3 separate regions of the Homo sapiens genome follow, and all the other regions are linked to region 1. Evidence: promoter capture Hi-C in 16 types of primary human blood cells and fetal thymus (Javierre and others, 2016). All regions are on one chromosome and are shown on one strand. Each heading gives the region's core, a stretch centred on a gene start or on the middle of the fragment in contact. The rest is flanking DNA. Distances are from core to core; before and after follow the strand shown. Region 1 holds the start of API5 (apoptosis inhibitor 5). Region 2 holds the start of EXT2 (exostosin glycosyltransferase 2). Region 3 overlaps HSD17B12 (hydroxysteroid 17-beta dehydrogenase 12).

Region 1 (4,046 bases), core at 743-3,242:
TTGATTTCTTATTTTCAGACAGGGGTCGTGCTGTGTTGCCCAGGCTGGACTTGAACTCCTGGGCCCAAGTGGTTCTCCCCGCTTAGCTTCCCAAATAGCTGGGACTGTTGGCTATCACGCTCAGCTCTAATCCTTTTTAGGATGTGAGATTTATCCTCAATCTAACTGAGAAGTACAAGAGCCGGGGAGTTCTTTTGTAATCATTTCCCGTGTATGTTCTGTACAAGTGGATGTGGCTTTGAAATTTACAGTCTATTATAGTTTGATATTTCAATCCTGAAATGTTAACATCCTTTAACATCCTTTTACACATACACACATAACTTTGTTTTGTATGCTTTGTATGTTTTACATAATGGGATCATCTTATACCTGCCTTTTAACTTTTCTTTTTCTTTTTCTTTTTCTTTTTCTTTTAATTTTTTTGAGATAGAGTTTTGCTCTGTGGCCCAGGCTGGATTGCAGTGGCATGATCTGGGCTCACTGCAACCTCTGCCTCCTATGTGCATATAATTCTTCTGCCTCAGCCTCTCATGCAGCTGGGACTACAGGTGCATGCCACCACGCCTGGCTAATTTTTGTATTTTTAGTAGAGACAGGGTTTCACCATGTTGACCAGGCTGATCTTGAACTCCTGACCTCAAGTGATCCACCCAACTCAGCCTTCCAAAGTGCTGAGATTACAGGCGTTAGCCACCGCACACGGCTATATATATATATAATATTATTATATAAATATAATTATCTTAATATATAAATATATATTATTATCTTAATATATATAATATATATTATTATCTTAATATATATAATATATTATTATCTTAATATATATTATTATCTTAATATATAATTATATAATAATATACAATATATAATATATATTATATATATAATTGTATATATAATATAATATATAATATATATTATAATATTAATATCATAATATTATATATGATATATAAATATAATAATATATTAATATATATTAAGATAATAATATTAATATATTAATTATATAATTAATATATTATATATAATATAAGATAATTATAATATATAATTGATAATATTGATATATTAATTAATATTATATCTCAATATATAGATATATTATAATTATATTATATAATTAATGTATTAATTAATATTATTATCTTAATATATATTAATATAATATTATTATATTTATATTATATATTATATATTTATATATTAATATAATATTATTATATTTATATTATATATTATATATTTATATATTAATATATAATGTTATATATTATATAATATATAATATTATATATTAATATATAATATTATATATTATATAATATATAAAATTATTATATATTAATATATAATGTTATATATTATATAATATATAAAATATTATATATTATATCATATTATATATATAATTTCATTTAAACTTGTATCTTAGAAATTCTTATCAGTAAGCGTACGTGATTTCATTTATTTATTATTCTTTTGGATACTGGACATAATCAGGTGGCCCCAATTCTTTACACTGGCAGCAAAGATAAGCAAATTCTTCCAGCAGGCCAAATTTGACCCCGCACTTGATGAGCGTGGTGGACACAGAGGGTTTTTTAATAGCATAGGAATGTTTTTTGCTTCCCACCGGACCCACTAGCCTCTAGTGCCACCGATTAATATTACCTTCCTTGAATCAGGAGGAAACCATTTGTGACTTCTCATATGTAAGATCTTCTAAGGGCAGAAACGCAATTGTCTTTGTATTCACTTCCCCGCCCACCCACACCCCTTCCATGGAGAGCCTGCAGCCAAGCTCAAGCTTTCAAAAAGGCGTGAGCTAATTCAATCATCCTTGCCGCTTTTTTGCTCCTCCAGGCTGTAGAGGGCGACAAAAACCGCGGAGGCGCATTGGGGTGGGGGGTGTCTACTGAAGGCCGCTCCCGACGTGCGCGTCTTTACGTAGACGTCGGGGGCGCAGCCGCGCTGTGCGCGGTGACTGGCGGCTGCACTGGCGGCAGCTGGAGGTGTAATAGTGCGGGTAGTGGGTTTGGAGAAGTTCCGAGGCGGCGGTGGCGCCGGTCAGGACAAGGATAGCGGAACCGGGCCCTGGGCTTGTCGCTCACCATGCCGACAGTAGAGGAGCTTTACCGCAATTATGGCATCCTGGCCGATGCCACGGAGCAAGTGGGCCAGGTGAGTTGAGTCCCCGGGCGGCCTGCAGGGCCTGGCGCTCCGCGGCCTTTCGAAAGCGCTTCCCGCCGCACTCCCCGGGCCGAGCGGGGGCTGCGGCTTCATCCTCCCGGGGCCTCCTAGCCTCCTCAGGCCGTCTCGTCGGGGTGGGCCTCTCTGGGAGTGTAGACTCTGGTTTCACCAGGGAGACCGCGGTCCCCAGGGTTCCAGGCTTCCTTGCCTCCCTTGCCCAGCCTTTTCTCACCGTGGCGTAACCTAACTCAGCCCGTTCAGGCTCACGTTAATTCTTCTCACGGAGCTTTTCTCTACAGGATTCTCTTAAGCCTTTCTCCTTTTCGGTGGAGCTCAGTGCTTCCAAGATTAGATCGGGAGTTTTCTTCATGAGGTCAAGATGTGTTTTTTTTGGGGGGGAGGCAAAATTCTGCTACTAATTGAAGAAGAGTGTTTAGGAGACAGAAGTTTGTGAGAAACAGAAGAGGGACTCTTTGGTCCAGACTTTGATGAGAGCTCACGGTTTCATTTATTCAGTGCATTTTTTTGAGTGCCGAGCGCTGGAGATACAGATGGAAAGGTCCGCGCTCTCCCAGAATGTACAGTTAGGAGGGAGTGTAGTAAGAAAGATAGGCATTGTGAGGCCCGGCTTGGTGGCTCACGCCTGTAATCCGAGCACTTTGGGAGGCCGAGGCGGGCGGATCACGAGGTCAGGAGTTCGAGACCAGCCTGACCCACATGGTGAAACCCTGTCTCTACTAAAAATACAAAAATTAGCCGGGCGTGGTGACACGCGCTTGTAATCCTAGCTACTCAGGAGGCTGAGGTGGGAGGATTGCTTGAACCCGGGAGGCAGAGGTTGCGGTGAGCCGAGATCGCTTCACTGCACTCCAGCCTGGGAGACAAAGCAAGACCCCGTCTCAAAAAAAAAAAAAAAGGTTTTTTTTAAAAATTTATTCTTTTTAATGAAACATGTTTGAAGAAAATAAAACAGGGCTGGGCGAAGGAGAGTGTGAGTGCGCAGCTCTGAATGGAGTTGTCTGGAAGAGCTCTCTTAACGATGCTTGCCCCCGATACACAGTTTCTCAGCAGTGTTGAATTATCCATACAAGTCATTTGTTCCCTGTATGAGTTTTCAAGTACTGGAGTACATTGAACTTGATAAGTGGTTGGGTATGTGTGTTCTTGGGAAAAGAACCAGGCTCTCCTGGAGGTAACCTTGATCATTGTTTTAGAAATCCCACACCATAGCTTTTCAGCGCTTAGAACTTTGTGATTTTTCTGCTTACGCATCCCTTCTTGGAGAAAGTGGAAGATTCTAGTCTATTAACAGTCGTGGGAGTACCTTTCCCGTCCCCTTTTCTTAACATAATTCAAATAGGACTTTTCTGAGCTGAACGAAAAAAAAAAAATTTCATGTTGGAGATTTATTGTAGCTTAATCTAGAATTAAGAATATACCAGTTTGAAATAGCAAATGATTTTTTTTCCTTCATTCCCTGTCAGTAGGGAATTTCACTTTTATCAGTAAGAAATGTATACGGATGTTCTGCTGTACATGTGGATAGAGTGTGTAGGTCGGTTGTGAAGGAGGAATATTCTGTTCATTAAGAAGGTAAAAACTGCCAGGCACGGTGGCTCACGCCTGTAATCCCAATTCTTTAAGGGGCGTGGATGGGCAGATCAGTTGAGATCAGGAGTTCGAGACCAGCCTGGCCAACATGGTGAACCCCCATCTCTACTAAAAATACAAAAATTAGCCAGGCGTGGTGGCATGCGCCTGAAGTCCCAGCTATTTGGGAGGCTGAGGCAGGACAATTGCTTGAACCCGGAGGGTGGAGGTTCCTGTGAGCTGATATCGGGCCA
Region 2 (4,046 bases), core at 841-3,340, 780 kb after region 1:
TCTTTCTCTGCCTTGAATGCCCTTTTCACCTCTCTGCTTGTCAAAATACTAAGTGTCCTCCAGGATAAACAAAGATATCAACTGTTGATTGAACTCTTCCTAGATTTTTCCAACTGGATGTCACCTCTTTTTTTTTTTTGAATTCTGTAGCATTTTGTTTATATGCTTCTATGCCACTTTTTACCTTCTCCTTTGAATAATCTTATTGTCTTATTTCTAGTTAGCTCCTCCCAGTGTCTAGGCATCCTTTCTCCATTCAACAACTATTTATTGAGCAATTAACTATATGCCAGGCATTAGGCAAGTTTAAGGTTATAAAAAATGAAGAAGATAGGCAGCATTGTGTGAGGCTGTGCCTCACACAGTTCTTTAACACGGCAAATTCTCATTTTATAAAAGAACAAAGGATTAATTAAAAACATACATGTTTAAAATACAGATAAATATGGAGAAGAAAAAAAGAGGCCACAATCTTCCAGACCAGATAGCTATTGTTGACTTATTTCAAAAAGTGAAAACAATATTCCCTGGGATAAGATAAATTTGGATACAGTTCCAGTGGTGATTGTCACTGCTCTCCACCCATCCAGTTCTCAAATGGGGTGGGTGTGTGCTACATTTTGTATCATTTGCAGGGGGGATTTGATTTGGAAAGCAGAGCAATGCCCCCTTGGATGTGGGGAAGCAGAACATGAGTGTCCCATCCCCAGAATGTCCTCATCCCAATCTCCCTAGATCTGTGACAAGCAGGCATTAACTCACAAAAATATCCCTGGAATCGAGGTTGCTGCCGGAAGCCTCTGTAGGTATCTAGTCTCAGAATCATCACTTTGAATATTTAAGCTATCAGTGACAACTTCCACCAGATGGCGCCAAAGTACATCTGGGACCAGAAGGGATTTGGATCCTGTAGCCAGACCCACAACTCTACCAAACCAACATCGCAGGCCCAGGGGTCATTTCATTAACCTCTCAATAACATCGCTCTGAATTTTAATTTAATTTTTTAGTTTCCACTTACTGCTTTATGACAGCGGTTTTAGTGTGCATGGATAGGGCTAAATCATGTAAATAATAGAGAAAGATACAAAACAAAAATGCGTTTTTTTTTTTTTTTTTTGGAGACAGGGTCTTGCTCTATCACCCAGGCTGGAGTGCAGTGGCACGACCACGGCCCACTGCAGCCTTGACCTCCTGGGCTCAAGCAATCTTCCTGCCTCTGCCTCCTAAGTAGTTGGGACTACAAGCGTGTGCTACGATGCCTAGTTAACTTTTTATTTTTTGTAGAGATGGGGTCTTGCTCTGCTGCCCAGGCTGGTCTCAAACTCTTGGGCTCAAGCGATCCTCTCGTTTAGGCCTCCCCAAATGCTGGAATTACAGGCGTGAGCCACCTTTCCTCGCCATAAATGCTTCCATTTCCGCCTCGACAACTACTCCACCTGAAGCTGTTCATTTCTTCTTGCATTCCTTCCAGAAAAAAGTTATACACATGCCTGAATATAAGCACCTACTTTATATATTTCTCCCTCTTGTTTTTGCATATGCATAGTTTACCTAAAAGTGACTTGCCCGCTGTTTTGGACTACGCTTTGATCTTAACTAATATCTTGGAGATATTTCCTTACCCAAATATATTGCACTATCTCACATTACTCAAATCAATCAAATTCCATAATTTATTTCGATTGTGTCTAGCATTTCGCTATGATTAGAAAGAATGCTGTCATGGAACTTTTTGACAAACATTGTTGAGAATATCCATAGGGCAAACTCCGTACAGAGAGCTTGTTGGAATGAAGGGTACCAGCATTTTCCGTTTGATGGATAGTACCAAATTGCCCTCCAGGAATGTTATACGCTCACCAGAACTGATTATAATAAAACGTCTACATATTTGTTAGTTTTATAAGCAACGCGTGGTGTCTCGTTTGGGTTTAAGGATTCTTTAATTATGAATGAGGCTGTCTGAGCATTTCACTGCGGAGCCTGAGCGCGCCTGCCTGGGAAAACACTGCAGCGGTGCTCGGACTCCTCCTGTCCAGCAGGAGGCGCGGCCCGGCAGCTCCCGCATGCGCAGTGCGCTCGGTGTCAGACGGCCCGGATCCCGGTTACCGGCCCCTCGCTCGCTGCTCGCCAGCCCAGACTCGGCCCTGGCAGTGGCGGCTGGCGATTCGGACCGATCCGACCTGGGCGGAGGTGGCCCGCGCCCCGCGGCATGAGCCGGTGACCAAGCTCGGGGCCGAGCGGGAGGCAGCCGTGGCCGAGGTAAGCGCGGCTCTCCAGGGCGGCGGCCGGGCGGGCGCTGAAGCGAGGGCTCGGGCCTCCGGGGGCCGCTGCTGGGTCGGGACAAGGGCCGAGGGAGCGCGGCCGCGCGGAGGCTCCGTGGAGGCCCGTGGGCTGCGAGAGGCCACCCCCAGCCCCGCCGGGGCTGTGACAATGACTGCCCGCTTTTGGAGCGCTCCGATTTCCACTCCTGCTTCTCCTTCTCCTCCGGCGGCGGCCGCGCTTTCAGCATCTTGGTACCCACCTGTTCTCCTAGCCAACCTTCGCCCCCAGTCCGCTCCTTCCTTTCCTCCTGCGACCCGCCCTCCGCCCTCCGCCGTGACCCCTCCCTTCCTGCTGCCACCTTCCCGCCAGCCACAGGGATCTGATTCCTCCCAGGGGGATGTCCTGCGCCTCAGGGTCCGGTGGTGGCCTGCGGCATCCCTTGCGGTGCCAGAAGCCGTGGGACGAGGTAGGGAAGGGGCCAGGGGCATGTTATGCCGGGGACTGGGTGGTCGGGGGCGTGTTAGGCCGGGGACTGGGTGACCGGGAACTAGATGGCCGGGGGCGTGTTAGGCCGGGGACTGGGTGGCCGGGGTCATGTTGGGCCAGGCACTAGGTGGCTGGGGGCGTGTTAGGCAGGGGACTGGGTGGCCGGGGGCCTGTCAGGACGGGGCAGGAGTATGTTAGACTGCGGACTAGATTGCTGGTGGCATGTTAGGCCAGGGACTAGGTGGCCCGGGGGTGTGTCGGGCCGGGGCCAGGGGCATGTTAGTCTCGGGACTAGGTGGCCAGAAGCACACTGGCTCTGGGCTTCAACTTGAAGTCCAGAGGTGTTTGGGGCTTTGTTACATTCGGTGGGAACCAGATCTAAACACACAATTTTGAGAATCAAAGAATTGCTTGGTGTTACTGATTGGGCAATGCTAATCTAGAAAGGTTCTTGACTTATTTATGTGAAGATATGGTCTTGAAATATGTACATTTAAATTCTTGTAAGTCTTAACTTCTTGTAAGTCAGGTAAGTGCTCTATGTACTTTAACTGGACTTAGTTTGTAACTTTCAGAACTCAAAGGCTATTCACTGTAATAAAATAGATGATTCAGTTTCCATCATTCACTTTCCCCGACTTCCTGGTTGCATGTGAGGGTATGAATGGATAATCAGTTTTGGGGCCAGACTGCCATGCTGTGAATCCTAGCTTTGGCATTTCCAGTTGTGTAATATTGGGCCAGGTACTTAAACTTTCTGTTGTACTATCCCCATCTGTAAAATGAGGGTAATAATAGCTTGGCTTATAGTGCTGTTATGAAGATTAAATAAGTTAACACTATAAAGTGCTTAAAACAGACCCTGGCATGTAGTAAGTGCTTAGTAAGATTTACATATTAATTATGTAATGACACACATTGTCTTATGGTATAATTCCCATGATTAAAAGGGCATTGTTTTTAATTGAAAATAATTTTTAGGGGCATTTAGCCATAACATAACTTTAATTATAAAGAATCCTATCAAGTAAGGCAATGAATTGTGGCTTTTTTTGCTTTTGCTTATATTTGGTTCCTCTGTTTTTCGGAATGGTTGGGTTAAGATCCAGTGTGGCAGTGGCCCCAGGAGTTCAGCTGTAAGGCCCTTTCTAAAAAGGTTAAGAAGAGGCCAGGCGCGGTGGCTCACGCCTGTAATCCCAACACTTTGGGAGGCCGAGGTGGGTGGATCACTTGAGGCCAGGAGTTCAAGACCAGCTGGCCAACATGATGAAAACTTGTCTCTACTAAAAATA
Region 3 (4,046 bases), core at 728-3,227, 540 kb after region 1:
GGGAGGCTGAGGTGGGAGGATGGCTTGAGCCCGGGAGGTGGAGGTTGCAGTGAGCTGAGATCGCACCACTGCACTCCAGCCTGGGTGACAGAGCGAGACTATCTCAAACAAAACAAAACAAAACAAAAAAATCCAGTTACTTCACTGCTATGCTAAAAATTCTTCCTTGGCTTCTCATCTCTTTCACAATGAAACCATGAGTTTTTATGACCCTCAATGTTCTGATTTCAAACTTCCACGTTATCATGTCCCCTCCCCACCTTCCTACTTCTGTGGCCTCCTTCCAATTCTGGAAACACTTTGAGGATGCCTTCACCTCAGGGCCTTTGCACTTGTTCCTTCAGTCTCAAAGGCTCTTCACCCAGATATTCTTTTGGCCAACTCCATCTCTTTGTTCAGATCTTTGGTTATAAGTCACCACATCAAAGGGGCCTTTCTTGAGAACTCACCTGCAGGCTCAGCCTCTATCAGCTCTTTTACCCAGGTATTTTTTTCATCTTGCTTTTTTATCATTGCCTGCCAATACTGTACACCTTTGTTTTAATTATTATTTGTTTGTGGTCTATATCCTCCTACTGAAATGTAAGCTCTGTAAGATTAGGGACTCTGTTTTTATTCACAATGAATTTTATTCATTAAGTTCCCATGCCTAAAACATTGTTCTAGTAGGTGCTCAGGAAATAGTTTAGTGTTAAGTGAATGCCTTTTGTGAGATTACACTGTTTTTCTTTTTGTTCCTTGAATGTTAACATACAAATTCCACATCTTTGGAGGTAGGTTATTTACAAGATTATCAGCCAACATTTATCAAGGATCTTTGTGTAGAGCACAATACTTTGAACTCCTTCATTTTGGATTTAGATGCTAAGATTTATATGTATTGTTATTGCAGGGCCTTTTTTCATTGCTATATAACCAGGGATCTCTGCACCAGCAGAACAACTCCTTTTTCCTAAAATTTCTAGAAAGTCTAAGGGTTTCTGCCAAGTAGATAATCAAGGGCCTTTATATGGAAAAGCTAATTTCGTGGTCTGCAAGTAAAGTAATACGCACTCCAAAACTATAATATAGGTGTATAATTATTTAAGTTTTTGTATACCAGATCCTGAAATCGTAGATGAATACACAGATTTCAGGAAATGGAGTTTTCCTAATATTCTTCATAGGAGCCCCAGCTTCTGCCTTAAGAGTGTGTGCTGGCTACACGGTTGAATTTAATGCTCGGTAAAGGCAGATGTGACACCATGTATGAAATCTCATACTGTGCAAATACACTAGACCCTAGTGTATTCTGGGTCTTCATTTTCCCAGGTCATTGTCATCTGATGTTCTGGTCATTTTTCAGTTGAAAAGCATGTTTAGTACACAGATGATGACACCTGAAAGATGCCCTACCATGTTAAGTTCCAAGGTTCAATCCCTGATTCTTGAATATCTGCCATGCAGTTTCAGGCATCTTTCTTTCCACTACTCCATGGCCATAAGCCTTCCTCTTCTGAATCAAGCCCCCTGAATTGTACTGTGCAGTCCAGTTATCTAAGCAAGCTGCTCCAGTGGGTGAGAAAAAAGATACCAAGTTGTCGGGCCTGGTGCGGTGGTTCATGCCTGTAATCCCAGCACTTGGGAGGCTGAGGCAGGCGGATCACCTGAGGTCGGGAGTTCGAGACCAGCCTGGCCAACATGGAGAAACTCCATCTCTACTAAAAATACAAAATTAGCCGGGCGTGGTGGCAGGCGCCTGTAATCGCAGCTACTCAGGAGGCTGAGGCAGGGGAATTGCTTGAACCAGGGAGGTGGAGGTTGCAGTGAGCCGAGATGGCGCCACTGCACTCCAGGCTGGGTGACAGAGCGAGGCTCCATCTCAAGATACCAAGTTGTCTCCAGTGATTTTATTTTTTTTATTTTTATTGTTTTAAAATAGGCTGAGCAAGGAAGCACCAACAGCTTTGCTTTATGGCCTAATTAATTATTTGCCATGTGGGAATGCTAAATTTGAAGACCAGGATACTTGCCCACATCTGCAGCTCTCAAGGTCAGGTTGTTTCTGAGCTGGCAATATTTGTAATGGGAACTTGTTGAAATTGAGCAACTTGAAAAATCTGTTCTGCCCACAATTTCCTATAAAAGTATGAGTATCTTCTTGACCTGTTTCCCATAATGTTTTCCTGAGTAAGCAGGAGAAATCAACTAATTATCCCTTGTTGGGTTTTTATTTAACAGTTGAAGGGTGTACCTAGATGGCTTTTTGATATCTAAGATATTTCTTTACTTTCATATAACTTGGAATATTTATTTTTAAATCATTGGCAAGTAGCTATAAGTATGCCTGTTTAGATAGGTGCTCTTATATATGCTTCAGAATTTCTAAAATTTTGGCTTAAACATTCATATTATCAACTTCTTGGTGTAATTAATTTTCTGGATCATAGCAGTGGAAAGAGACCCCAGTACTCTTCTTCGGTGCTGTCCATAATGAAGTGTCTTTCACCAATTCATTCAATAGATATTAATTGTACCCCTGCTATGTACCAAGTACTGTTCTAAAACATTAAAATATATGAATATGACCAAGCCTTCATGGAGCTTGTGTTCTAGAAATGGATACTGCCCAGTGATTGGATTCAGTTTTCTGTACCGTTTTGCCTCCCTCCTGCCACTCTTCACACATTTCCAACATTTGAACCATCCTGAGCTATGCAGTTCCCTGAAAAACATCATGCTCTTCTGTGGCTCCTTTTCTTGGCTCCTGCTGTTCCCTTATTTGTTTACAATTAGGGAAATTCTTGCACTTCATTTAAGACTTAGCTCAAACGCTGTTTCGTCTTTGAACCCTCCACTAGGCCATGTTAACTGCCTTGATTTTAAACCATCGTGGAAATAAATATACTTTCTAGAAAAGAATTTACATTTCTTAGCTGGAAAAACATAACCCAACTTGGAATTCCTGAGTATGCATCTCTTGTCCCCACCCCTTGATCTGGGGGTTCTCTAGACTAGCTCTATGGTTTAGCTGCATGAAGAGTTAACTTGTGGCACCACCAAGTGGTTCAGTCAGGCAGTGCAACTTAATTCTCCTACAAGATCAAAGTAGTCCAATTTATACCATGTTACATACGAAGGGAGGGAAGAAGATGGCAAAAAGGATGGACGAAAGGAACAAAAAATTATAACGCAGTTGAGAGGTATAATGATTAGACCATCTCTACCTCTAGAAGCTCAAAATCTTACAATACCTTTACCAGGCTTGTGATCTATATTTGGGTTTTTTTTTTTAATCTTCACTATTTTGTGACCTTTAAACCTAATGCATAGAAATGAGAAATGGTTTGCTTATGTTCCTTCATTATGTGAGATCAGAGTATTTACATATACTCTTTCTTTCCTTACTGCTCAACTTTACTCTGGGAAATAACCTTTTCTTTACTGACCCATTGTGAGAGCCTCACTGAACTCTGCATTTCCTACTCAGTCTGAGTCGGAGATCTCACCCTAGTGTGTGCTCTCATAGACTATATCCTTGTGGCAAAATGGTCCTTAAAAGATGTGACAAAAAATTTTTTTTTCTAAGTGAGGGATAAATATATAGTGATAATCCCAATAAACAAATTCTCAGAAATCAAAAGTTACCTAATCAAAGTTGGCTCAAATATTGAAGTACTTCATACTTAGTATGAGTCTGTGGCTGCAGCAACAAGGAAAGAGGAAGATAGAGAGTGACAGCACTCCATCTGGGGTTCTTGGTTCTAATGAAGAGGCTGAGGTTTCATCTAACCTGTCAAGGAGAGTGGGTTGCATTCCTTGACTTAGACTTCGGAGTGGGAAAAATGCAAAGCACACACGTACATAAAAACCCAGAGACGGCCGGGCGCGGTGGCTCACGCCTGTAATCCCAGCACTTTGGAGGCCGAGGTGGGTGCATCACAAGGTCAGGAGATCGAGACCATCCTGGCTAACATGGTGAAACCCTGTCTCTACTAAAAATACAAAAAATTAGCCAGGCGTGGTGGCGGGCGCCTGTAGTCCCAGCTACTGGGGAGGCTGAGGCA

The links. Contacts are between HindIII fragments. The CHiCAGO score rates a contact against its expected background, and 5 or more counts as called.
Region 2: a contact is called between the fragment with the promoter of EXT2 here and the fragment with the promoter of API5 in region 1, in 2 of 17 cell types (total CD4 T cells and total B cells). The highest score is 6.2, in total CD4 T cells.
Region 3: a contact is called between a fragment that was not itself captured here and the fragment with the promoter of API5 in region 1, in 1 of 17 cell types (neutrophils). The highest score is 5.3, in neutrophils.

The regions. Positions count from the first base shown.
Region 1 is chr11:43,310,004-43,314,049 of GRCh38, forward strand. API5 (apoptosis inhibitor 5) reads left to right here and starts at 1,993. Exons shown (of 14, transcript NM_001142930.2): 1 at 1,993-2,193. The coding sequence starts at 2,125. RefSeq lists an enhancer at 1,746-2,521. The HindIII fragment of the contact is 11,672 bases long and covers 1,818-4,046 here.
Region 2 is chr11:44,093,588-44,097,633 of GRCh38, forward strand. It overlaps EXT2 (exostosin glycosyltransferase 2), which reads left to right and starts at 2,091. Exons shown (of 14, transcript NM_207122.2): 1 at 2,091-2,265. RefSeq lists a silencer at 1,958-2,577 and an enhancer at 2,998-3,047. The HindIII fragment of the contact is 9,066 bases long and covers 1-4,046 here.
Region 3 is chr11:43,849,198-43,853,243 of GRCh38, forward strand. The region is part of intron 9 of HSD17B12 (hydroxysteroid 17-beta dehydrogenase 12); the gene reads left to right. Among named protein-coding and RNA genes, the nearest start is that of ALKBH3, 30 kb to the right of the region's middle. The HindIII fragment of the contact is 5,632 bases long and covers 1-4,046 here.